Linked DNA regions of Homo sapiens: region 2 is linked to region 1. The links are contacts of gene promoters, found by promoter capture Hi-C in blood cells and fetal thymus (Javierre and others, 2016). All regions are on one chromosome and are shown on one strand. Each heading gives the region's core, a stretch centred on a gene start or on the middle of the fragment in contact. The rest is flanking DNA. Distances are from core to core; before and after follow the strand shown.

Evidence for each region. Contacts are between HindIII fragments. The CHiCAGO score rates a contact against its expected background, and 5 or more counts as called.
Region 2: the fragment with the promoter of PANK4 here is called in contact with the fragment with the promoter of CCNL2 in region 1 in 1 of 17 cell types (neutrophils); the score reaches 8.7 in neutrophils.

What each region holds. Positions count from the first base shown.
Region 1 is chr1:1,394,798-1,402,241 of GRCh38, forward strand. CCNL2 (cyclin L2) reads right to left here and starts at 4,538. Exons shown (of 11, transcript NM_030937.6): 1 at 4,222-4,538; 2 at 3,800-3,874; 3 at 3,436-3,545; 4 at 597-717. The coding sequence starts at 4,509. MRPL20-AS1 (MRPL20 antisense RNA 1) reads left to right here and starts at 4,733. Exons shown (of 3, transcript NR_015434.1): 1 at 4,733-4,892; 2 at 5,361-5,506; 3 at 5,808-7,249. MRPL20 (mitochondrial ribosomal protein L20) reads right to left here. Exons shown (of 4, transcript NM_017971.4): 4 at 7,112-7,444. The coding sequence ends at 7,286. RefSeq lists silencers at 4,251-4,430, 4,501-4,740, 5,031-5,090 and an enhancer at 5,476-6,019. The HindIII fragment of the contact is 37,128 bases long and covers 1-7,444 here.
Region 2 is chr1:2,521,989-2,529,432 of GRCh38, forward strand. PANK4 (pantothenate kinase 4 (inactive)) reads right to left here and starts at 4,608. Exons shown (of 19, transcript NM_018216.4): 1 at 4,476-4,608. The coding sequence starts at 4,599. It overlaps HES5 (hes family bHLH transcription factor 5), which reads right to left. Exons shown (of 3, transcript NM_001010926.4): 3 at 6,757-7,444. RefSeq lists enhancers at 1,328-2,115, 4,635-5,355, 6,077-6,797, 6,798-7,444. The HindIII fragment of the contact is 7,457 bases long and covers 1-5,005 here.

The DNA of each region.
Region 1 (7,444 bases), core at 3,288-5,787:
CCTGTAATCCCAGCACTTTGGGAGGCCAAGGTGGGAGGATCACGAGGGCAAGAGATGAAGACCATTCTGGCCAACATGGTGAAACCCCGTCTCTACTAAAAATACAAAAATCAGCTCGGCGTGGTGGCACGTGCCTGTAGTGCCAGCTACTCAGGAGGCTGAGGCAGGAGAATGGCTTGAAGCCGGGAGGTGGAGGTTGTGCCTCCACTGCCACTGCCACCATGCCACTGCACTCCAGCCTGGCGATAGAGCGAAACTCCATCTCAAAAAAAAAGAAAACAAAAAAAAATTAACTGTAGAGAAAGGAAAACATAAACTAAAATTCAACATTTATAAACTCACCACTATTTTTGAAAGCCCAAACTTAAATAATACCATTTCCAAAACACTTAAAAATGTGTTACTAAAATAAACAGCTGACACTAGAAGACGAATACGTCAGGAACTATTCTTGAGATTATAAATAGAAACTGGAAAGCCAAGTCAGGGATGCACTCAGTCCTCTTCAGAGCCTTCAACTGCACTGAGGTGGAGAGAGGCGGCCAGGCAGGAGCAGCGGCCTAGGCGGGCTCGCAGGGCAGGAGCCGCACACCCACCTTATGAGGATGCTTCACATGGACGCAGAAACCCAACTCTTTGAGAACTCGTCTTTCCGCCTTTATAATTTGGTTCTTTAAATTAACATAATCTTGATCCAGTAGTAGAGGCACGGGCTTCCTGCCAGAGAGAGAGCACAGGGTCTGCACCACAGTCAAGCAGAGCAAGGCTTCTGAGATCCCGTCGTTACCTCCAACTATGAGCACCTAACACAAACCCCACAACACAACATCGCTATGAAGTCCACATCCTCTGATGAACAAAACTGCACACCGCTCCCCACAGCCCAGTGCCAACCTCCTCATCCCTTCCCAACGATCCCTCCCTGCTTTTCCTTATAGATCAACAGCTTCTGGTGCACAAGCATAGACCGAACATAGCAAGTTTTAGGATCTCGTGGCACAAATGCTAAAGCACTTTATGTGACTCACGATAGGAAGGTACATATTCACAGTTCAATAACCACAGAACCAATGAAAGCACAATTATTTAAATACAGATGGGCCAGGTGCAGTGGCTCTGCCTGTAATCCCAGCACTTTGGGAGGCGAGGCAGGCAGACTGCCTGAGCTCAGGAGTTCAAGACCAGTCTGACCAACATGGTGAAACCCTGTCTCTACTAAAAAAATGCAAAAATTAGCCGGGCGTGGTGGCGGGTGCTTGTAATCCCAGCTACTCAGGAGGCTGAGGCAGGAGATTCACTTGAACCCAGGAGGCGGAGGTTTCAGTGAGCCGAGATCGCATCACTGCACTCCAGCCTGGGTGACACGGTGAGACACAGTGAGAGTCCGTCTCAGAAAAAAAAAAAAAAAAAAAGGGCTGGGTGCAGTGGCTCACACCTGTAACCCCAGCACTTTGGGAGGCCGATGAGGCCATGTTTTTTCTTTTTTTGAGATGGAGTCTCACTCTGTTGCCCAGGCTGGAGTGCAGTGGCGCGCTCTTGGCTCACTATAACCTCCACCTCCCAGGTTCAAGCAATTCTCCTGCCTCAGCCTCCCAAGTAGCTGGTATTACAGGCATGCACCACCACGACCAGCTAATTTTATATTTGTAGTAGAGATGGGGTTTCTACATGTTGGTCAGGCTGGTCTCGAACTCCCGACCTCAGATGATCCACCCGCCTTGGCCTCCCAAAGTGCTGGGACTATAGGCGTGAGCCACTGCGCTCGGCAAGGCTGTTTTTTTTTTTTTTTTTTTTTTTTTTGAGACAGAGTTTCACTTTTGTTGCCCAGGCTGGAGTGCAATGGCACAATCTCAGCTCACTGCACCTCTAACTCCCCGGTTCCAGCGATTCTCCTGCCTCACCCTCCCGAATAGCTGGGATTACAGGCACCCGCAACCACACCCGGCTAATTTTTTTTTTATTTTTTTTTGAGACGGAGTCTTGCTCTGTCGCCCAGGCTGGAGTGCAGTGGCCCGATCTCAGCTCACTGCAAGCTCCACCTCCCGGGTTCACGCCATTCTCCTGCCTCAGCCTCCCAAGTAGCTGGGACCACAGGCACCCGCCACCACGCCTGGCTAACTTTTTTGTATTTTTAGTAGACGGGGTTTCACCGTGTTAGCCAGGATGGTCTCGATCTCCTGACCTCGTGATCCACCCGCCTCGGCCTCCCAAAGTGCTGGGATTACAGGCGTGAGCCACTGCACCTGGCCAATTTTTGTGTTCTTAATAGGGACAGGGTTTCACCATATTGGTTAGGCTGGTCTCGAACTCCTGACCTTAGGTGATCCACCTGCCTAGGCCTCCCAACGTGCTGGGATTACAGGCCAGCCCGGCCAGAGGCTGTGTTTTCTAAAGGACTTCAATTAACTTCAGGTGCATAAACCCTGGGCTAAGGTCAGAGGCAGCGGTTCTCTGCTGGAGAAATTTTACTATTCCAGGGCCATGAAGCAACATCAACAGACTTTCGTTTTTTTTGGAAACAGGGCCTCACCCTGTTGTCCAGGCTGGAGTGCAGTGGTGACATCACAGCTCACTGCAGCCTCAATCTCCTGGCCTCAAGCAAACCTCCTTTTTCAGTCTCCCAAGTGCTGAGATGACAGGTGTGAGCTCCCACATCTGGTATGAGAGAATTTCTGGCTGTCACATCTAAGGTGGGGTACTCCTGTCATCCAGTGAGTCGAGACCAGGGATGTTGCTGAATCCTGCAGCACACAGGAGAATCCCCTACAACTAAAGATTACCCAGCCAGATGCGGTGGCTGAAATCTGTAATCCCAGTGCTTTGGGAGGCTAAGGCCAGCAAATCCTTGGAGCCCAGGAATTTGAGACCAGCCTGGGCAACACAGCATGACCCCATCTTTACCAAATAAAAAATAAAAATTAGCTGGCATGGTTGGCGTGCTCCTATAGTCCCAGCTACTCAGGAGGCTGAGGCAGGAGAAACTCTTGAGCCTAGGAGGTTGAGGCTGTAGTGAGCCATGATCATACCACCGCACTCTGCCCTGGACAACAGGAAACCTGTCTCAGGAGGAAAAAAAAGATTATCCAGCCTGAATGTCAATAGTGCTGAGATTAAGATTCCCTGCTCCAGAGCACTCAGAAACTTGTGGGACAGAAGCAGCAGCAGGGCCGTGCACTGACATGGGTAAAGCAGGAAGCCAGCCCCAGCGCGACCCGCCACAGCGCACTGTCCTCACTGGAGCCCCTGCCCTTACTAAACCGCATCTACTGATGCCTCTGAGCAGGCTCTGTTGGTGGAGCTTGAGACTGCGCTCATGAATATCCCACAGGTTTAGAGCCTCAGGCCTGTATTGTGTTATACAAGCCTTACTGTAACTTAATCAGAAATAAAGAAAATAGGCATCTATGATAGACTAGACAGCTCTGACTGACTCACTTTTTGTCTCTCAGCTGTCGAAGGCGGTGAAACACATTGATGACGTCCCGTATGCGTCTTGGGGCCTCTTCTATCTTGGAAGCCAGGTGGACACAGGCCATTGACACATGCTGAAGCGGAAGCATTGCAACACGCCCATGTTTGTCCCCAGCCACGGCGTCCTGACGGCCGCCAAAGGCTTGAGGGCTATTCAGACCAAAAGGGAGGTGCACCCAGGGGAAAAAAAAAGTCAAGAAACAGAACCCTCCGGCACAGAGCTCAGACTGGGGGGCAAGTACTCACTCCCTTAGTAACCGGGCAAAGTAACAAACCGTTTTACCCTCAACATACTTCGCTGGGAATGAAGTGCAGGAGGAAGCCTTACCTCCATGGAGTGCTTCACGAAGGACTTGGTATAAAAGAACCGCTGGAACAACACCTGCCCGGTAGCCATGGCCACCTAGAGTAGAAGAAAGTTTCCGTATTTTCAAACGCACCATTCAAAGCCTTCGCGGCCGAAAGTCATCGAGTAACGTGGGACTCCCCACGCAGAACCAAACACTGAAACGCTTCCCACGTCCACAAAGGCTCTTCGCGTCCCGCCGTCTCGGGATCCAGCGCACTGGCGGGCGGGGAGGCCCCGGGTCAGGGGCATGGGCTGGCTAGGGAATGGCGCCGAGGCTGGGGTCGGGGCAGGGGCTGGGGTCGGGGTCTAGGCGGGGGCGGTGCGGGCCCGACTCGCCGCCAACAAAGGCGGCTGCCGCCCCAGCGGTTACCTGGGCCGGAGGCTCGCGGCCGCGCCCTCACCTGCGGCAGGCGGAGCAGGATACCGGCCGCCTGGATGAGCTCGCAGCCCACCACGCGGAGGTCGGTCTCTGTGTCGGTGTCGAGGCCGCTCGACATGGACGGCGTGAAACGGAGCTTGTCGTCAGGCAGGAGGCAGTTCTCCAAGGTGATGAGCACCCCGGAGTACAGCCTGTCCCCGATCAGCACCCCCTGCGACCCTGAGGGTGCGCCCCCAGATCCCGGGGCGCCGGCCGCTGCCGCGGGAGCTGCCGACCCTGCAGCACCAGCCGCCGCCGCCGCCGCCGCCATTTTGTGCCGCCGACTCCCCTTCGGCTTCTTCCCTCAGGGCGGCTCCTCGCGAAGCTCCACGGCCGCCACCGCCCCGCCCCGTCGCGTGCCATTGGTTCGGCCCGCGACCAGCGCGACGCCGCCTAGCCGCAATTGGCTACATAACCTGCCCGTCAGCAACGCGCCTAACGCCGACGCCGGAACCTGGCGCGGGTGGGGCGGGCTCGTTACCCAGGGGACTCCGCGGTGCCGGCCGACCCGGAAGCATGTCTGTCCCTAGCGGAGGCGCGGGTGCCGTGCTGAGAGCGCCTGCCTGTGCGCCCCGAGCGGGGCTGGGACTCTTCCAAGATGCCCACGTTCGCACAGAGACCCCGGATCGCGGAAGCTCGCGTCTCGAAAGGCCTGTGGGTCAAGGGGGGCCATCTCGGTGGGATCTGGGGCGGGACGACCCCCACTGCTGAACCCTGGGCGCGGGGCAGGGTCAGAGGCTCCGCTCGGCCTCCCCCTGGATGAGACGCGCATGCCCGGTGTCCCCCGGCCGCCGTCGGCGTCGTGTCTTCAGTCCTTATCGACTCCAGACTTTGGGGATGCGTATTAACGCCAGACTCCTGCAAAGTCTTGCCTTCAACACTCAGCCCCTGGGGAGAGACGGGTGGAGGGATGACTGGAAACGTGGCCTCGACGTCCCTACAGAGCCCCTCCAGCGTGGGGAGGCCTAAGTACCTCAAGGTTCAGGCCCACGGAAGGAGTCGGGGGAGCGAGGCCCGGTGATCTACGTGTGAAGGAGCTTGGACAGGACCTCACAAACGCCAGGGAGACGGCGAGGGGGTTCGTGCGTTTGTAACGTCTTGACATCGCTGATCCTCCCGCAGGCGGTCTCACGCCCTGCCCGTCCTGGGTTCACGGTTTTTCATCACCTGCGGCTGTCCTGCGATCGACCACAGCTGTGCAGGAGGGGCAGGAGGTATCTGTTGCTGCAGTTACCGGAACCTTTGCCAGGACTAGTACAGGACCACGGGTGAGGATGGTGGGGAAGCCTGCGTGGGGCAGGGAACGGTGAGGCAGGAAGAGGGAAGGGCAGCAGAGGCCTGAGTGGTTGCAGGTTCACACACTGAGCTGCCAGTAACTGCCCAGCTCAGACGGGCTCAAATTCAGAAGCCACCATTGCTCCTCACCCCCACCCCCAGGTCAGCTGTCCACTAGCTCTGCCATGACTTGATACTGCAGCTCAAACAGTGCCAACCAAAACCCACTCTCCTCACCGCCTGTTATGGGTAACACGGTATGGTTACAGCTTTACTCATGTCCTCTTTCCCCAGGCTGGTAGCTCAGGGATGTCTCGTCTGTGAGTTACAGCTGCACGCTCTCCAGGAAAGAAGGAATTTCCTCTTCTCTGGAAACCCCACCACACAGCTGGTTTCTCATTGGTGCTGCTTGCCCATTCCCTGAGCTGTGACTGCCAGAGGAGTGGGAGGTTGGTGGTGCCTCCAGCCCATCAGGGGCAGGCCCTGGGACCGCCTGGGAACAGGAGGACTATGGCACAAACCGAGTGAGTGATGGGAGCAACCCGCAGGGCTCTGCCACATCCCTGTCTTCCTTCACTGACATGAAACGCAGAAAAGGCAGCTTTGCCACAACACAGGAGCACGCACCGAATGTGGCCGCCCAGGGCTCTGTCCTTGACCCTGTTGTCCAGGACTGTTTACCAAGGGCTGACAGGCACTGAGTGCCCCGTGCACCTGGCCAGACACTGCACTCATGCAGCGGAAAGGACAGTGAACGAGACTTTGTCCCTGGCCTCCAAAGGCTTAGGGCGTAGTGGCTGTCATGAGGCACAGTGACAAGGGCCAGGAGGGGGACCTCTTAGGGGGCCATGCAGTGATGGAAGCCAGAAGGAATGAAGGCCTGCAGTGAGGATGGAGTGGTCGGCCTGAAGCCATCTCTAGCAAGTGGTCAGGACGCTGATTGTTCTGCGCAGGTTGGAGGTAGGTGGTGAGTCTGAGAAAGGGGCCGGAAAGACTCCCCAGCAACTGCTGGCAAAGGGTGAAGGGCACGTTCCCACAGGATTCAAGCCAGCTGCCTTTGGAGGGGAGACGGGCACTCAGTTTAGGCGCTCCTACAGCAGGGTCAGCAAGACAAGCAGGTTGCGGCAAGGGTCTGCGCACTGCTGTGTAAATGTAGGGGCATCGGGGGGCAGAAAGACCAGGGGAGAAGTGTGCATCACCCTTGGGGTTAAGGGACAGTTGTCTGCTAGGTGTTGCTTCCTGGAGATGGCTGAAAAGCCAGTCCAGTCTGCAGGGACCAGGCCACCACCCACCTGATGTGGGAGCATTTCCCCCAATCCCTGCTGGGCTGCTGAATCTGGGGGACATAGGGAAGCTGAGGCTGGTGTTCTGAGTAGTGGCAGAGCTGAGCCACAGGGCATGTCTGAGGTCAGCCCCGAGCAAAATGGAATAGGGACTCAGGGTGGGTCAGGTAACTGGAAAGCGGGCACTGTGCACGCAGCCCTTGAGGGGAGCCAGGGTGGGTGGGGATCCCCCACTGTGTGCAGAAGGCAGCAGCCTTGGAAGCAGGGTGTGCTCCTCGGTGTGGTCGCTCGATACCAGAAAATGACTCTAAAAACTGAAGAGTGTTTGAGTTTCATTCACACAAAACATGGACATCATCTGTGAGGCTCTGTCCCAGAGAGACAGGGCCATCCCTCATGTCTGTTATTGGGTTGTAGATAAACAAAAGTATAAATCAAACAAACTGCAAATTACTCTGTCTCTTTTCCTAATCAATACAGCAACAGTCCTCAGTGGTACTGCACCACTCTGGAAAAAATGCCTTCAGGTTCCTTCCCATCCCCCAAGGCAGCAGCAAATCCTTCGTGTCGCCTCCTACTGGCCAAGGCAGCCAAAGATTTGAAAGTCTTTGGCTCGTAGATGGCCAGATCCGCTAGGACTTTCCTGTT
Region 2 (7,444 bases), core at 3,358-5,857, 1.1 Mb after region 1:
CTTTTCTTTCTCAAATTCTGCTCCTCCTCAGCTCCCTGGCCAAACTGAGCTCAAGAGGTCCCGCTTCCCCTTGGCACCAAGTCCTGCAGAGGAAAGGGAGAGCTGTCTTGCTTTGGGTAACCTTGGTTATCCTCACTGCTTTAAGAAAATTCAGTTTCAAGTGATCTTGCTAATGACCCAAAGCGATAAGCTGACAAATCCAGGCTGTTTTCGTTTTAAGAAGTACACCCTCGACCGTCCCTGCTTACAAAGGAGGCTCTCCTCACAGCCCAGGGCGGTAACGGGGCCTGAGCAGCTCCCCTACCCTGGAGAGGCAAACGGTGCCGCTGGCTACTCTTGAGAGGCTCCAGGCAGAAAATGCAGCCCCAGCCCCAAAAGTAGCCAGAAGTCAGAGGCCACCAAAGTCCGTTTCCCCACAGGCCAAAGTCTCTCTGATGCTCTCGAGAAGCCCTGTGGCTTCCAGGATGCCGCCTGTGATCAAAGGTTGAATAAATATCAGGAAATGGAAGGGGCTCTATGTACCTGAACCAGATTTCAGGGAAAAGTGAAAAGATTCTTGAAGAAGGCCTTTTCAAGGACAAATTCTTCTAAGTTAAAAAAAAAAACAGACATTGTTGAGGCTAGAGTTGTATTCATAGATTTGAAACAACATGAATGACAAATAGAAAAAGAAACAAAATGTGACTTTGAGTGCATTGCGCGGTGCTACAGTGACTTAACAGAGGGCACTGTGTGTGTTATAGTGACTTAACGGAGGGCACCGTGTGTGTTATAGTAACTTAACGGAGGGGACCGTATGGTGCTATAGTGACTTAACGGAGGGCACTGGATGGTGCTATAGTGACTTAACGGAGGGGACCGTGTGGTGCTATAGTGACTTAACGGAGAGCACTGTGTGTGCTATAGTGACTTAACAGAGGGCACCGTATGGTGCTATAGTGACTTAACAGAGGGGACCGTGTGGTGTTATAGTGACTTAACGGAGGGCACTGGATGGTGCTATAGTGACTTAACACAGTGCATTTCTTACAGGGCCTGACAAAAAGAGGCAAAAATCCCACATCATGAGAGTAATGAGGCTAAAGTTATTTTCAAATTATTGTTTTTTGACAAAATACTATAAGGATGTCTGAGAACAAGCACTCAGGTCAGTAAAAAGATTTGGAAACACCAAGCAAACAGCCAATGCTGTTCATGTAGCAAAACCCACCGTGTCCAGGCCCCACAACAGCCATCCCAGGGCACCTCCTGCCTGGTGGTGAGGGCAGGCTCCCCGACGGCTGGCGTACAGTCTGGTGGACGCGTCACAGGCTCAATCTGATCCCCTAGCCTGTGGCTTTAAGCCTCCTTATCCCCTCCCCTGCCCCCAGTGCTGGCCGGGCCCGGAGAGTCTCACTAACATGCACCATGCCGCCGACTCACCTCAGTAAATAAATCGTTTTCTAAAACGACAGATGATGCAAGAGGATGAAGATCTATTTTAAGAGACTCATCAAAAGTCAGTATAAACAAACTCTCAGGTCACAGAAATCCAGTTTCAGGCCCTGGGTTCTTTGTGTTAAATACATGCCCAAACAGGATGTACTGGGGTTGGGACAGAGGTGGGGGTGGGTTGGTTTCTGCAAGATACGCATCCTCCCTCCCTGAGACCCCTGCACGGAGAGGCCCAGCAAGGCCAGTGTTCCGTCTGCCTACTCCCCACACCCGGGGGGACAAAACGGGACCTGAGGCGCGAGGGGCACGCACAGCAGGGAGATCTGTTAGAGCAGAGGGAACCGCCTGCGGGCGGGGACCCTTCCGGGCTGAGCTCAGGGACCCCTCGGAATCACAGCAAACCGCGCCTGGCAAGGCAGTGACAGGAGTGCCTCCTGGCGGCTCTCCGGGCTGCCCGCGCTCGGCCCTGAGGCCAACAGCTGGTGGGGGAAGGGGGCTTCCCAGAGGTTTGGTCACCTGTGCTCTTCACATCTGAGCCATGGCCTTCTAGTTCTCCCTGTCCCACAGGCCCCATCCCCTCTGCCATTCTCTCTGGTCCTGTGTTTCCTCTTTGGGCACCAATGGAGGGCAGGACAGCCAAGCAGACACCACCGCCCCGTGGCCCCTTCCTGTCTCACCTGCCTCTGAGGAACCCTCCCCACAGCCCGCAGAAACCTAAAATCAGATCGAAGCTGCAGTATGTTTTGAGAAATACAACGTCCCTGCTGCTTTCAAAGAGGTGAATCTGCTCAGCAGACATCAGCGTCCCATCGAGAGGAAAACAGCTTGCCAGAACACAGGGCAGGTGAGCTTTCCTAGATCCAGACACAGGCAAGGGAAGAGGAAATGGGAGAAGCCTGCTTTTAAACAACACTGTTGACAAGCACTTTGGCTTTGAGGGTTCCTGGGTTGAAGACACCCCACCCTGAGCGTGGCCTCCCAGCAGCTCGGTCAGGAGTAACAAACAAAAGGTCTCTCAGTATCAGTCAACAGGTCCTCTTAAGAACCAGAGACACAGGACCCAGACGCAGGGAGAAACTTTGAAGAGGGGAAATAAATACCAGCACTAAACAGACCTCTTAGAGTATCCTTCTACCAAGAAACCCCCTGGGCTCAGCCTGGAGAACAGGCTGGTACTCCAGGGCCCTCTAGGGCTGCGACAGCCCTTCCTGGACAGCCCCAGCTCTGCGGCTTCACTGGCCTCTCGGGGCCACACAGAACATCCACGGTGAGCCCTGTTCTCCTGGCCATTCCCCAAGTGACTTATGCAGGTCAACTGCAATTGCATTTCAGAAACATTTAATCCCGACTTGCTTCCAGTAACAGAATCCCCCAGTGTAAGGGCAGCAGAACCTTGCAGAGCACACGCTCTACCGGGCCTCAAGGTCTCAGAAGGCTGGGAAGCATGGCTGGGGAGCCTCTGGTGAGGCCTGCGGTAGACAATCCCCTAGGCTAGGGCTGCAAGCTCAGCACCTGCAGCCCAATAACCAGTCAGTCCCAAGTCCTATCAGCGGTCCCTAAAGATGCTACTCACACGTTCTCATACCTGGCACCAGGCCACACCCCCTAAGAAGCATTGCCTCCCATAAGCTCACTGAAAGGTGGGAGCCAGGACCTATAGCTACTTCCATTCTCATCGCCCCCCACTTCCCTAGAGGACACCCTTCCCTGGCTGGACATCTCAGAGAGATGATGACACCAACAACCCCGAGGACACCACAGCAGCAAACATGTCAGATGCACCAGGAGCACACAGCTCAGAGGGAATGGCCTGGGTCTCTCTGAGTCCCAGCTTTTCCAGGGAGGTGGGAAGCAGTCAGCGGCAGGCCCATTCATCCCAGTATTTACTGGGCGGCAAAGACAGGTTGGGCATCCTTTTCGGGGGCTGGGGCTACAAGACACACCGCTGCTCTTGTGGGATTCACACACAAGCAGACTCAGCCTACGACCGAGATGAGTGCTAAGAGGGAGAGGTATGTGAAGCCGCAGCGGCTATTCAAGGGGGGTTTCTCCAGGTGAAGCTGCCCCCAGGAAGCCCTCATGCCTGAAACATGGGCAGAGTAGGAGAGCAGGGAGTGGCTGGTTCAAATCCTGGTTCTGCCACTTTCTAGCCCGATGACCCTGGGCAAATTAGTTCACCTTTCTGGGGCTTGGTATCCTCATCTGCGAAAAGGGAGTAATTCGCGTTCCTCCCCTAGAGGTGGCTGGGAGGTGTCCGGGAGTCAGGAGCGTGGGAAAAAGGTCTAGAACAGAGCCTGGCCCGCCGTCATTACTGAGAGCACAGCCATCAGGCAGGAGGGTCTGCAGCGGACCCTGGAGAGGCCAGGGCAGAAGTGCAGGCCGCCTTAAAGGCCACGGAAGGCACGGGTGGCTTTTAAACCAGAGGCACGAGTTCCCAGGTCCCACGTCCACGGCCGCCTGAACTCACGCCCGGCGTCCACTCTCCAGAGAGCGGGGCCTGTGCACGGACTGTCCGGCCCGCGGGCCACAGCTGGCCACGCCGCGGGAACGCGCGGCCTTTTCGGGGCCACTCTGCCAAGGGCTTCCCGCCGAGCTCGTCCTCGTCTCGACCAGAACTAAGGACCCCAAATCTCAGGCCAGCCACCAGCCAAGCGGCGGAGCCGGGGCGCCCAGATGCCGATGTGGCCGAAGACATAAAATTCCGCCGACCCTCCCACCTCGCGGCGGGTAACGCTGGACCCCGGCCCCCAGCCACCCAGGACGGCCGCGCGAACTACCAGGCCCGGCAGGCCCCGCTCTGGTCCCTGCGGCGCCTGCCGGTAGCTGTAGTCCGGCCGTCGCCCCGAGCCCGCGCATCAGCGACCCTGCGGACTACAAGGCCCGTGAGGCTGTGCGCGGGCCCGCGGACTACAAGGCCCGTGAGGCTGTGCGCGAGGCCCGCGCCCCCGCCCTTCGTCCTTCCCGCCGCCCCCGCTCGCCGGCCCACCGCCGGCGCCCCGCCCGCCCCCGCAGCCCGCGCCCGGCGCCCGGCCTGCGGCTACCTATGTCGATGGCGAAGCGCTTGGCGTTCTCCAGGTTGCGGAAGATCTCGTCGGGGGGCAGCGTGATGCTCTTGTCCAGACTGTCCCCGCTGCTCCCGCTGCCGCTCGCTCCACACTCCGCCATTTTGAAAGTGCCCGGCCAGCTCATCAGCCATGGAGATATATGCGCATATATTTGACTGCCAAACGCCCCCTCGCATAGATTATGTTAATGAGGCGCCGGCCCCGCCCCTTCCCTCCCCCACCCCCGGCCTCTGAGGTCTCGGCCGCTACAGGGCGAGCTAGGGCCAGTGCTGGGCAGGGGTCCGAGAGGCCCGGGGCTGCGGGCGGGCGGGCGGTTATCCTCCAGAGATCGCGCATCAGCACAGAACATCTGGACTGATGTTCTTTTACCGCGCTGTCCACAGGCTTAACTCAAGTGCTCTGAGCCCTGCTGAGGGAGGCCGCAGAGGCCGCCCACCTGCTTCTAAGGGGGCACGTGGGTCTGCAGACTGTCAGAGAGCCCTGCCCTTCAGCGAGTGCCTGCTGTAAGCTTGGCCCTGCACGCCAGGGCGAATGTGATGCGCTCTTTGCTAGGGTGACTCAATCCTGGCTTCCCAGGGGCGTGGGACTTTCAATGTTAAAAGTCCCATGCAAACCAGAGGAGTGGGGAACCCTGCCCCACCTGGGAGGAGCCCCAGCCTGGCATGCACCTGCGGGTAGGGAAGATGTGTGCTGTAATGGCGATCCGTGGAAAGTGCTGTGGTCGGGGGAAGCCAGGCAGGCTGCCTGTGGGCAAGACAGGTGCCTGGGAGGCTGCAGGAACAAGCCTTGGAAGCAGCTGGAGCCAGGACAGGGGTATAGGTGGGGCAGGCCAGGGTTCCAGGGTGAGTGGCTGGGAAGCCCTGCTGGCATGAAGAGATGCGTCTTCTCCAGAGGCTCTGGGCGCCTTGGGAAAAAGCCCAGTGTTGGAAGCAGACAGATCAGCCCCTCCCGGGTAACCCGGGGTCATTACTGCATGTCTCTGGCCCTCAGCCTCTGTCTGCACGTGGAGAATGCCACCAGCTGCCTGGCAGGGCTCCTGGGAGCACAGGCCTGTGGGGCGGCACAAACTCCAGGGATAATGCATCTGTGTGCGCAGGGCAAGCCTTCAGGGAGGAGGCATCCTTGCCTGTGTCTTCCAAGGGGGTGGGTGTGTGGCTCTGGAGGGGGAGCCTGCCCCAGGGAGGCCTGGGTGGAAGAGTGGAGCACACCCCAGGCGGCTTAGACCTCTGGCAGCTCAGACCCCTGGCAGCATGGTGTGCCATGGGCCAGGCTGGCAGGAGGTGCCCTCCATGAGGGGCGCCCACCTGTGTGCCCACTGAACATGCGGGAAACATGCAGGTGAATGGGGGCCTTCCCTGTCCTCTGCCCACCATACCCCGGGGCTCGGTAGGGACCACTGGCAGGCACTGGGTTGGTCTGGTGGGGGGACCCTGTCTAGACTGCCTGTGGAGTAGCCAGAAAGGGGCTGAAGGCTGAGCGGAGCGAGAGGGGCTGAGCAGGAAGGAGCAGGCAGGGCAGGCCCACACACGGGGCTACCATTCAGCGGGGGTGGGAATGCGGCCCACTCCGGCCCAATCCTTGCTGGATGGATTTTGCCCCTTGGGAGCTGGTCCCTGGGAGCCACAGGCCTCAGTTCTTGCAGACTCAGCCAACACCCTGTGGCCTGCCTAAAAATACATGCCCTTTCTGAGGCAAGGGATGGCCCCGTGCAGGCTCCTGCCAGGACTGCCAGATCCTGCCTTGGCACGGTGGCCAGCGGGCAGGTGTCCCCGGAGCCCATGCCAGGACTGGCGCTGCAGGCCGTGGGAGTGTGCAGCAGCAACTCGGGGCAAATGTTTTCTCCTGTTTGGCCCAGGGCCAAGCCCCTTTGGCTGTAGCAACAGATCTACTGCGGGCTGTGGCCCTGGGTCGCCTCTCAGTGGACACAGCCTAAGGTCCTGCGCTGTCACCTTGCCCCACCCCTACCTTCCGGAAGCTAGTGAAAGGCCTGGGCGGGGGGAGACCCAGGGCTCCGACCATGTCCACCCCTCCAGCCCACCTCCCCCTGCCCCTGCCCCTCACCTGCTTTCCCTCCATCCCTCCCTCCCCCTGTTCTTCCGGAGCAAGGACCCCACCCTTCTTCCGGGGTCCAGGGGGCCACTGGCAGGGGTCCCTCCCTGCTTAACTGCTACCATGGCCCTGCCCATTCCCCTTCACCCCTGCAGACCCGCTCCATGGCTGCCAAGGACAGGCGTGAGGCACAGCAGACGACACTGTGTTGGGGGCTGAACAATCAGATTTTATTATGGCGGCTTCGGAGCAGTCCCGTGGCTTCCACGTGACTGAGAGTTCAATTTCTGAGTACAAAGTCGTGCCCACACGCATCCACCCACACAGAGGAATCCTTTAAGGATCATAGTGGAGGCACCCACCCTCCCCAGACAGCCCACCGTGAGCCCCAGCCAGACCACCAGGCACACTCAGGAGCCTTTTGGCCATGGCCCTCAGGGTCCTGGACGCCCGTCCGGGGTGATCACTGTTTCCTATGAGGATACAGCTCGAGTTCGGCCTTCACAAAAGGCAAATGTGCCCGCGGCACAGCCCGCCTGCCAGGGGTACGCCCAGCAGCTACGGGCCCTGAAGAAAGTCCTCTACAGGCTGGGGGCAGCAGTGTGCGAGCCCCGGCACTACAAATATCATAGAACCCCGGGCGGCCGGGGACTTCCCAGAAGTCACTTGCTTAAATGCAAACACAGAACAACCCCATGGGGTCAGACACTTGGCAGAAGATGGGCCCTGATTGTCCTAAAACGGCAGGGACTCTGCACACACATTCTCTGAGAATGGGGCTCCTGCGGGCCGGCCAGCTTGGGGCCAGAGCCTTCCGGAGAAGGGCGCGTCCAAGCCCGGGGCGGACGACGGCGGGAAGGCGCTTCCCTACAGGCGAGAGGAGCAGGCTCGCCCTC